2 separate regions of the Homo sapiens genome follow, and region 2 is linked to region 1. The links are contacts of gene promoters, found by promoter capture Hi-C in blood cells and fetal thymus (Javierre and others, 2016). All regions are on one chromosome and are shown on one strand. The core of a region is centred on a gene start or on the middle of the fragment in contact, and the rest is flanking DNA. Distances in the headings are between cores, read along the strand shown. Region 1 holds the start of FLI1 (Fli-1 proto-oncogene, ETS transcription factor). Region 2 has its middle 46 kb from the start of ETS1.

Evidence for each region. Contacts are between HindIII fragments. The CHiCAGO score rates a contact against its expected background, and 5 or more counts as called.
Region 2: a contact is called between a fragment that was not itself captured here and the fragment with the promoter of FLI1 in region 1, in 8 of 17 cell types (naive B cells, total CD8 T cells, activated CD4 T cells and 5 more). The highest score is 7.8, in naive B cells.

The regions. Positions count from the first base shown.
Region 1 is chr11:128,691,592-128,695,928 of GRCh38, reverse strand. It overlaps FLI1 (Fli-1 proto-oncogene, ETS transcription factor), which reads right to left and starts at 1,857. Exons shown (of 9, transcript NM_002017.5): 1 at 1,653-1,857. The coding sequence starts at 1,670. SENCR (smooth muscle and endothelial cell enriched migration/differentiation-associated lncRNA) reads left to right here. Exons shown (of 3, transcript NR_038908.1): 1 at 1-16; 2 at 2,538-3,274; 3 at 3,808-4,257. RefSeq lists silencers at 826-955, 1,006-1,225, 1,266-1,315, 1,536-1,905, 2,589-2,728 and 1 more and a cis regulatory region at 1,637-2,369. The HindIII fragment of the contact is 9,137 bases long and covers 1-4,337 here.
Region 2 is chr11:128,631,032-128,635,575 of GRCh38, reverse strand. No RefSeq gene overlaps it. Among named protein-coding and RNA genes, the nearest start is that of ETS1, 46 kb to the right of the region's middle. The HindIII fragment of the contact is 199 bases long and covers 1,462-1,660 here.

The sequences.
Region 1 (4,337 bases), core at 608-3,107:
AGAAGAGGCCTTCAGAGTAAGTGGTAACTGTCCTGATTGGGGCGAGGGAGTTTTCTAGAGGGGAGCATCTCATTACTAAACCCAGAAATACAGAGACACTTGCATGAACACATCAACAGGAAGCAGAGAAACAGGCATAAAATGGCCCAATGACCCCCACTCTCGGGTCTTTGCAGGAATCCCCTCTCACCTACTTCTCACCTACTCACTTTGGGTTTGAGGAACCCAGGCTCTTATAGGCTCTTATAGCTCCCTTTAACCCATCACAGTCAGTTATCTCATCTCCAGATTTGCAAGTTCCTTCGGTTGGTGTCTTTTACCTAAGTCAGCATATTTCAAACTTTCATAAAAAAAACTTAGAAAATAAAAACCACGACCCCACCCAGAAGATAAAAATCTCTTGAATTCTCTGAGCCCAACATCTTAGCCTTCTCTTGCTGAGCCCTGAGCAGGGAGTCGATTCTTTCGGGTTCTGGGGAATGGCGGGCTCTGCCAGTCCCCACCTCGCCAGCCTAATAGTTTTTCCAGACAGACTCCCGCTTGGTGTTGCGCGGCAGCCTCGAAGCTAACCCCTGGTCCCATTCATTCCCCTAGGTCCTCTAAGGCCCGTCACGTTAGGGGGTGTCCCTCCTCTCTGCTCCTGGCCCTACTTGGCGAACCCTTTCAGAGACAGCAGTCAACTTTTCTGAAGTGAGACGCGAACCCAAACCCTCACCTTTCCGCCTGGGTTGCACTTTGCAACCTAGACCCAGGCTTGGCGGCGGCGGCTGGGGTGGGAATGGCCGGGCGGGCGCGGGGCGCGGGCTCACAGCCGGCCCCTGCAACGGAGGCGGCTCCGAAGGACGCAGGACCCTTTCGGAGGCGACAGCTCCAGGAGCCCTGGTCCTGGAGCCGGCGCACGCCTAGGCGCGAAGGGCGGGGGCTCGGGGCGCTAGGGATCTGTGCGGACGGGGGCTGGGGAAGGTTCCCCGCCGGAGAGGCGGCGAGGCCGGCCCAGGAGTCCCGCGGAGCCGGCGGCTCTCCAGCGCCTAGAGCCGGGCGACTGAGTGCCGAGAGGAAGGGAAAGCGCTGACATGTAAACAGGGGCTTCCATCTGGAGGAGCCCGCTCAGATAGATCCCCCGACACACTCACTTGCACCCCTACCCTCGTGCAACGAGGCCACTTACCCACCCCAGGGCCCACCAGGCAGGGACCCGAGCCCGGGCGACTGCAGCCCCCGCCCCCGCCGTGTTCCGCCTCTGCGGAGAGGAAGCCCAGTGCCTAGCGCTGGGGCCACGGGAGCCCCGGGTGTCGGTGGGAGTGGTGGACCCCGAGGTCTCTCGCCCTTGACTCCGTTCCGTACCCTGGGGTCCCCCGGTTTCCCGCCGTCCCCTCCTGCAGCCCCGGCGGGCAGCGAGGTGGGAGGGGGGCCGGGGCTCCACTTTGGGGGCTGGGATTTCGGGGGAGGGTCGCCCTCAATGCGGGCGCCTGGCCGGCTGGCCCGCGAGTAGGACTCGCCACCCGAGCGCCGGAGGAGCCGGCGCGAAGCCGGGGCGCGGAGGGAAGGGAGAGAGGCCACGTCTTCCGGGACGCGGGCCCCGCACCTACCCGCCCGCCGCTTCGCCTCCCCGGCCGGTCCCCGCCGCCCGCGTCCGTTGCCCCGCCGCTTACCTTAATAGTCCCGTCCATTTGGCCAAGTCTGCAGCCGAGCCCCCCAATATTCCACACATTGACCCGGTTACAGCCTGACCTCGCAGCCCCTTCGGATTAGCCCGGCGCGGCCTCCCTGGCGCCCTGGGCCCTCCCTGCGTGCCCCCTGCGAGCGCCCTGCCCTCACTCCCCTGTGCACGTTTGTTGTTGTAGCGGAGCGAAAGAGACAGTTAACCGGATGAAACTTTTTTTTCAGCTAATTTTGGGAAGTGACTTCACTTTGCGAATCGGGGAGGAAGTCCTATCTCTCTCTCTCTCTCTCTCTCTCTCTCTCTCTCTCTCTCTCTCTCTCTCTCGCCTCGAGCTCTCCTCTCTCTTCTCTCCCCTCTGCTCTCCCTCGTCTTCCCTCCCCCCCCACACCCCCTCTTCCTCCCCTGCTGGTCCTGCTTTTCGCATCACACACTATATAAATATACGCGGAGATGCCCAGACACATTCATGCGCTGCGCACACAGGATACTTGCTCCTGGGAGATAAGAGCTAGCCGGGAACAATGACGGGGTCCACGCCCAGCGTCCGCGCCCTGATTCCCGAAGTCTGAACCTCCCCCCATCACCTTCCCCCAAAATCCAAAGCCAAAGACCTTTGGCTTCTTTGCTTTTCCTGAGGCGGTTGGCCGAAGGTGGCCCTCCTGACTCATTCACTTTCCGTTTCTTCCCACAGATACGTTCATTAATGCTTTTTCCAGCCGGAGACAAACTTTTTGGGGGTGGGGTAGGGGGGGTATGGAGGGAGAGTTGGCTAGGGCTGCGGGTAACCCAGCGCCTACTGCCGGGGAAGACTCGGACGAAAACCGAGGCAAACCAACCATTAAAAAGTGCATCCAATAAGAATTTTTCCACTCAGGCCCTCCGCTGCCGAGACGCGGCAGACTCCCAGAGCGGCTCACCCACTCATCGAAGCGGATTCTGGGCGGTTTCGGGCTGACCCGCGCTGTCAGGGCGCGGACTCCATTCCGGGCGCATTGTTAGGAGAAGGGGCCCCTCGGGGCGGCGCGCCTCGACCCTGGGCTCCCGGTGCCCGCAGAGGGCGGAGATCCGCGGCGCCCTAGGCCACCTATCCGCATCTTCTCGAGCCAAACCCCCAGCGCTTACCCGGACCCGACGGCCCAAGCACTGACTCCCAGGCAAGAGTCGCCCTTCCTGGTCCCCAGGGAACTGACACTACCGCGGGACGTTCCCTCTAGGACAGTCAGCAGGTCCCAGGAGCGCAGCACGCAACAGCGCAGAGCAGACCCAGACTTTTCCCGGGGTGAGACCCGGAGGCCCGCGCTCTGGACCGTCCTCCCTACCCAGCCTGGAGGCCGGCGTTCCCCGGCCCAACCCGGAGACCTCCCCGCCTCCCTCCTGGGCCGCCGCGCGCCCCAGTTGGAGCAGCCTCGAGGGGCTGGGCCCTTTCGGCCGGACTCCCTTCTCCCGGACATCCAAAACAGGTTACCTTGTCCACGCTCTCCGGACCACGCTTTGGACTTGCTCACTTTTATTTAAGAGTCCGACGGGGGAAAGAGGGAAAAAAAATCCAGAGGAGATCCAAGTCAATTGGAAGAAAAAATTTCAAAAGGGTGTCCACAGAGGCGAAAAAAGGTGACTTATTAATTCTTTATTTCTTCAGGAGCAATTGAGCCCGAGAGCTCACTCGTCTCCCTCCCTCCCCCTCCCTCTCTAGAAATTAGTCTCATCAATTCGGCTCCAATTTTGGGTTCGAATACAGACACGGGTCTGAACGTGACCAGACCTGGAGTGGCGGGTGCAGCCTGCCAGCAATTGAGACTTGGTGTGCGTGTTGGGGGTGGGGGTGGGGTGGATGGTGGGATGGGGGCCGGGCTGACTCCCCCCGCTCCTGTCTGCTTCTCAATCCAGGGGTCTGCTCCGGGGCTCCCCTGGGACCGCCACATCTGGTTACCGCTAGCGGGGTCAGTCCCCCCCTTTGCCTGGGGCCACCAGTTCTGGAGTTCAATTAAAAGAAATCAGGCTTAACCCTTTCCTCCCCGCGGCAGGCTGCCTGCCCTCTCACTCCTCCCTTCAGCGTTTCCACGTGCTTTCCAGAGAGGAAAGAGGTTAACGGGAAAGGAAGAATGAATTACATCCTTTCAAACCCCAAATTGTTTCCTTTTCAGCCCAGGCTCTACCGACCTTCAAACTACAACAGAGCTTTCAGGAGAATGCGGAGAGACGGCTTCCCACCCGGACCTCACCAGAAACCCGCACACCCCAGCCACATTGCTCCTCATTCAGCCAGAAAGGACTCCAACTCCACCACCAGGAGGCCCCCCTTCCTGGTGCTGGCCAGTTGCAGAGGCTGTTCATGGCATCCCACAGGTGGCGACTGCCCCCCACCCTCCTCCTAGCACTTTAGAGGGTCCCTCTGTGGCAGACACCATGGCTAGGTTTCTCTTTCCAACTCCTGTTGGTCTGGCAAGTGACAGATCATCTTCACTACATTAATCAGTAGTCACCCGAACATTCCTATACTGTCCCCCAATTCCTTTCAGCACCAGCTGCCTCCCCCACTGGAATTATTCAATATGGAACTAGATTAAATTGAAGACTTGCCCTTTAGTTTTTAACTGTGGAACTCCATCGCACTTTCTGTTTCTCCAAAGCTACGGCAATTTCATGGTTTTGGAGATGGGCGGGGGGTAGTGGA
Region 2 (4,544 bases), core at 312-2,811, 60 kb after region 1:
CAGGATACAATTTCTTAAAATTAATCTCCCTCTGTGATGTAGTTTGGCTGTGTCCCCATCCAAATCTCATCTTGAATTGTAGTTCCCATAATCCCCACGTGTCATGGGAGGGACCAAGCAGAGACAATTGAATAATGGGGGCAGGCTTTTCCCGTGCTGTTCTCGTGATAGTGAATTAGTATCATGAGATCTGATGGTTTTACAAAAGGCAGTTTCCCCGTACACATCCTCTTGCCTGCCACCATGGAAGATATGCCTTTGTTCCTCCTTCGCCTTCCACCATGATTTTGAGGCCCCCAACAGCCATGCGGATCTGTGAGTCCATTAAACCTCTTTTTCTTTATAAATTACCCAGTCTCGGATATGTCTTTATTAGCAGTGTGAGGCTAGAGTAATGCTCTCTCTCTCTCTGTCTCTCTGTCCTATTGGTCTGTTTCTCTGGAAAGCCCTGTGTAATATACCACTCTCTCCACTCAAATGTTTTAATGGAAATGCACTTTCTCGCTGGAGGCTACTCATTTTCTGATCTACATACACTGGATCCTGGAGTGGAATATTTTCTCAGTACCCAGAACTCCCACCAGATGTTCTACCTTTTTTTTTTTTTTTTTAATAAAAGTTCATCTTCCATTGTGGCCCATATTCCCCAGTGAACCAAATTTCAGGTTGTGTTTCCTCATTAGTTGAGAGTTTGGACCTGTCTTAAAACTTCTTCTCTACCTTAACTCCTGTTTTAGATCGCAGCACATGGCCTGTCCTACCAGCCTGGCTTCCCAGTCTTGACCTCCCGCTCCAATGATCTGCATCTCCGCTCCTCTCCTTTCCAGCCCCAGAGTCCTGACCTAGATCTTGGCATCACTGCTTTCCATAGCAAAGTTGATGTTCTAGTCTTAGACTGGTCTCTTACTCTGTTAGTTTTCTTATGAGTAAGACTGATCTTTGATCTCACAGGTACCTCTGATCCCCTGGTCTCCCCACTTCCTTCTTTTCCCCCCTATGGCTGATCATCTGGACCACACTCCATCAACATTACCCTTGGCTGTCTTGGGTCATGACCATTCTTCACTAGATTCTATGGATTATAAGGGCAGAGTTTGTATTGCTTTTTTCCACCCTTCATATTCAGAGTAGTGCATTGCAAAAACAATAAATATTTGTCAACTGAATAAATTTCACACACATCCAATGAATTCCCAAGCCTGGCTCAATGCTACAAGTCATTGCTTTTGATCTTACACCTTGAGAAGCAGAATAGGGATAAAACAAATCACACAACCATGCTGACTTAAAAAAAAAAAACTGTAGTTTTTTAAAAACTACAACTTTACAACTAAAATTCATCGTCTTTTAACTCAGCTAGAATTCAGAGCTTCTCACCAACTCTTTCACTTGTTCTAGGTCAGCTTTTTCTTCCATGACCCTTACTACCTAGTTCACACCTCTACCCCCTCACTTCAAGCTTTCTTTTACTATTTCAGTCCCCGTTCTAACAATCTTTTAATTCCCATTTCATGAAAAAAAGTGAGACTATCAGGAATTGTGTTTTCCATGTGTCTACTTGGCTCCTGACACACTTTTAAAAACACTGTTCTGCACCTATACTGACCTCTTAACTCCTAATAAGTGGCCACTCTATCTGTTCCCAGCCTGGCAAGAAGCTTTGAGGCTAAACCCCTTCAGGACATCAGGGAGCCCCATTTTCTGCTCCTTCCCAGAAAGAGAGCTGTCACTGGGCAGCCAGGATTATGACGAAGCCAGGGATGGGGACCCGGGGAGGCGGCCTGTGACCTGACTTGGAGCACCTGCATGGTAACAGGAGCTTTTGAGGCCATCTACTTTCCTTCACTGAGCTTGTGGGAGAAGACAGGGTGTTCACGAGGCTGACATCAGTGATGTTCCAGGCTTCAGGTTATCCCCGGGGATCTGGAGGTAGAGGTTTTCAGGACAATGGTGCTGCTTTCTCGACAAGCAGAGCAACCCTCTGTTTGGTTCTTTTTGCCAAATAGACTTTCACTCCTCTCCCGTGGACCCAGGCTGCCCAGAGCATAGGAGGCAAGGCCCAGAGCCCGGGGAAGCCCCCAGGGCTTATTGCAGGGCCAGAGACTTGCCAGAGCCTGCTGTGGCCAGGCCCCACTTGAGCTGGGACTTGGGCTTCTGATTCCATTGGGTCTCATACAGACCTTTGTTTTATGGATATTTAAAAATCACAGAAATGCTAAAGGTCAGGCCTGGGACCCTTGTGACTTCTTTACTGGCCCAGTGGTCACCTCTTCCATCACAAAGGTCACTGAGTGTGGCTGGGCTGATGTGATTTACCTACCTTAAAAACCTTATGTACTATGAAGGAGAATTTAGTAATGCCTTTTTTCCTAACCTTCTTGTTTTTTTGATTTTTTTTAATCTTCTCCACCCCTGTTTTGTTACAAAACACCTCTGAGTCGGATTCTAGTCTCCCCGGAAGTCCTGGGTGGTAGAGGCTTTTCTTTGTGGTGATTATGGGCTCTCAATTAGAAATTAAGAGAGGCCTCCATAGCCAGCCCCTTTGGTCATAAAGCCATCATCTTGTCCTCTGGAAAGAGGTGATAAATGACACTCAAACAGAAGACTAGCTCTGCGGGAGACCCCGGCCCTGTGACTCTTTCTGTGTCATCTCAACCTCAGGCCAGGTGTGCACATCCCGCAGGAGCTCCAGTCACCCTTGTGAATGATCCTCATTCTCTGAAAACCAAAGAGCCTGCACATGGCTAATAGGACAAGCTGCAACTCCCCCAGAGGACTCACAAGGCCCTTTCTAGCCTGGCTCCCCACTTCCCACCTCATGCCTCTCCTGGTCCCTGGGAGTCCCCACCCCAGGCCTCTGTGCTCTGTACCCTCTTGTCTGCATTGCTCCAGAGCAGCTCAAATAACTCCCCTCTGGGAGAGTCCTCGGTGTGACCCTCTGCCCCACATTATAGGCATGTGCTCTCGGCGCTGTTCTGCAGCTGGCTCTGGGTAGCTGATGGAAAAGGGTCACCACCTGCTCATCCGTGTGCCCAGCAGCTCCCAGCACCATGCCTGATGCCAGATGGGAGCCTGGGAAGAGCTTGCTGAATAATGAAGGGGCCCTAGGTGTGCATGTGAAGGTCTGAGCAGTGCCTGGACTTGTCAGAGGCTAGAGGGGTCTGCCCAGGCCCAGGGTGGGTTTGGGTGTCTGCCTCTTTCCCGGCATCTTTTGGGAGATGCAGCGGTTGGCTGCATTGCACCACCAGTATTTGGGCAGAAGGGGTCTCTGTAGGTGCAGAACACAAGTTCTCAAGGCTGCTACAGTTGAAGGAAGCTACTTTGTAGTTGAATAGATTCAGACTTCTTGAAAACCCAGCTCATGCTCATTAACTGCTATCCTGGGAGGCACTCAGGACCTTTAGTTTCTTGAAAGCAATGCCCCCCTGCATTTGGCCTCCCATTGGAAGATATGTTTCAAGATCCCTCTCCACACAGAAGACAGTTTCTTGCCCCTCTCCTCGCATCCCAAAACTCACCTGTCCTTTTCTTTAAAATATTGTATGCAAAGGAGTTTCTCCTTGTATTTGTTTCTCCTTGCATTTGTAACAGATGTAATTGGGAAGTGATTCCTGAACTAACTTTTTCTCCTATTGTTACAGGTTAATGTCAACAATCAGAATACTAATATAGTAAGAGTTAATTAATTTTTTGGATTCATACATAATTTTTAAGTAATATGCCAACTGTCCAAATACTATGTACTGGTTTTCTTGCCTATTAATTTGATGCTTCCTTTTCATATAATTTTTCCCCATAATGAGATATCACCTTACAATAGTGAGGATGGCTGTTATCAAAAGAACAAAAGATAAAAAGTGTTGGTGAGGATGTGGAGAAATTCGAACTCTGGCGCAGATGGTGGGAATGTAAAATGGTATAGCCGCTATGGAAAACAGTAGGGAGGTTCCTCAAAAAGAGGAAAACAGAACTAATATAGGATCCAGCCATTCCACTTTTAGGTATTTATCCAAAAGAATTGAAATCATGATCTTGGAGAAATATTAACATGCTCATGTTCATTGTAGCACTGTCAAGATGAGCTAAGATGTGGAAACAACCTAAATGTTCATCAATGGGCGAATAAAGAAAATGGGTAGATACAGACAGTGGAATATTACTCGGCCTTAAAAAAAAATGAAAATCGTGCCATATGTGACAACATGGATGGACCTGAAGGACAGTATGCAAAGGGAAATAAGCCAGTCACACGAGCATTAACTGATTTTCCTACATGCAGTAAGCATCCTCTTAGTCATCTCTTCTTACTGATTCCCTGCCTCTATGGTAGCTTTTATTAAGGTGGTCGACCAAGAATGGGAATAATTATGGCTATTATTTGTTGGGCATTTATTCTGTGCCAGTCCAGGGCTATGTGGTTGACATTTCTCTTTCTAGTCCTCACGGTGGTCCCACCTGGTAAGTATGGGCATCAGTGTGACATGTGGCGGTGAGTCCAGGCTCCGGACTGCACCACATGCGTTCAGCCCTGTTTTTTTCAGTTA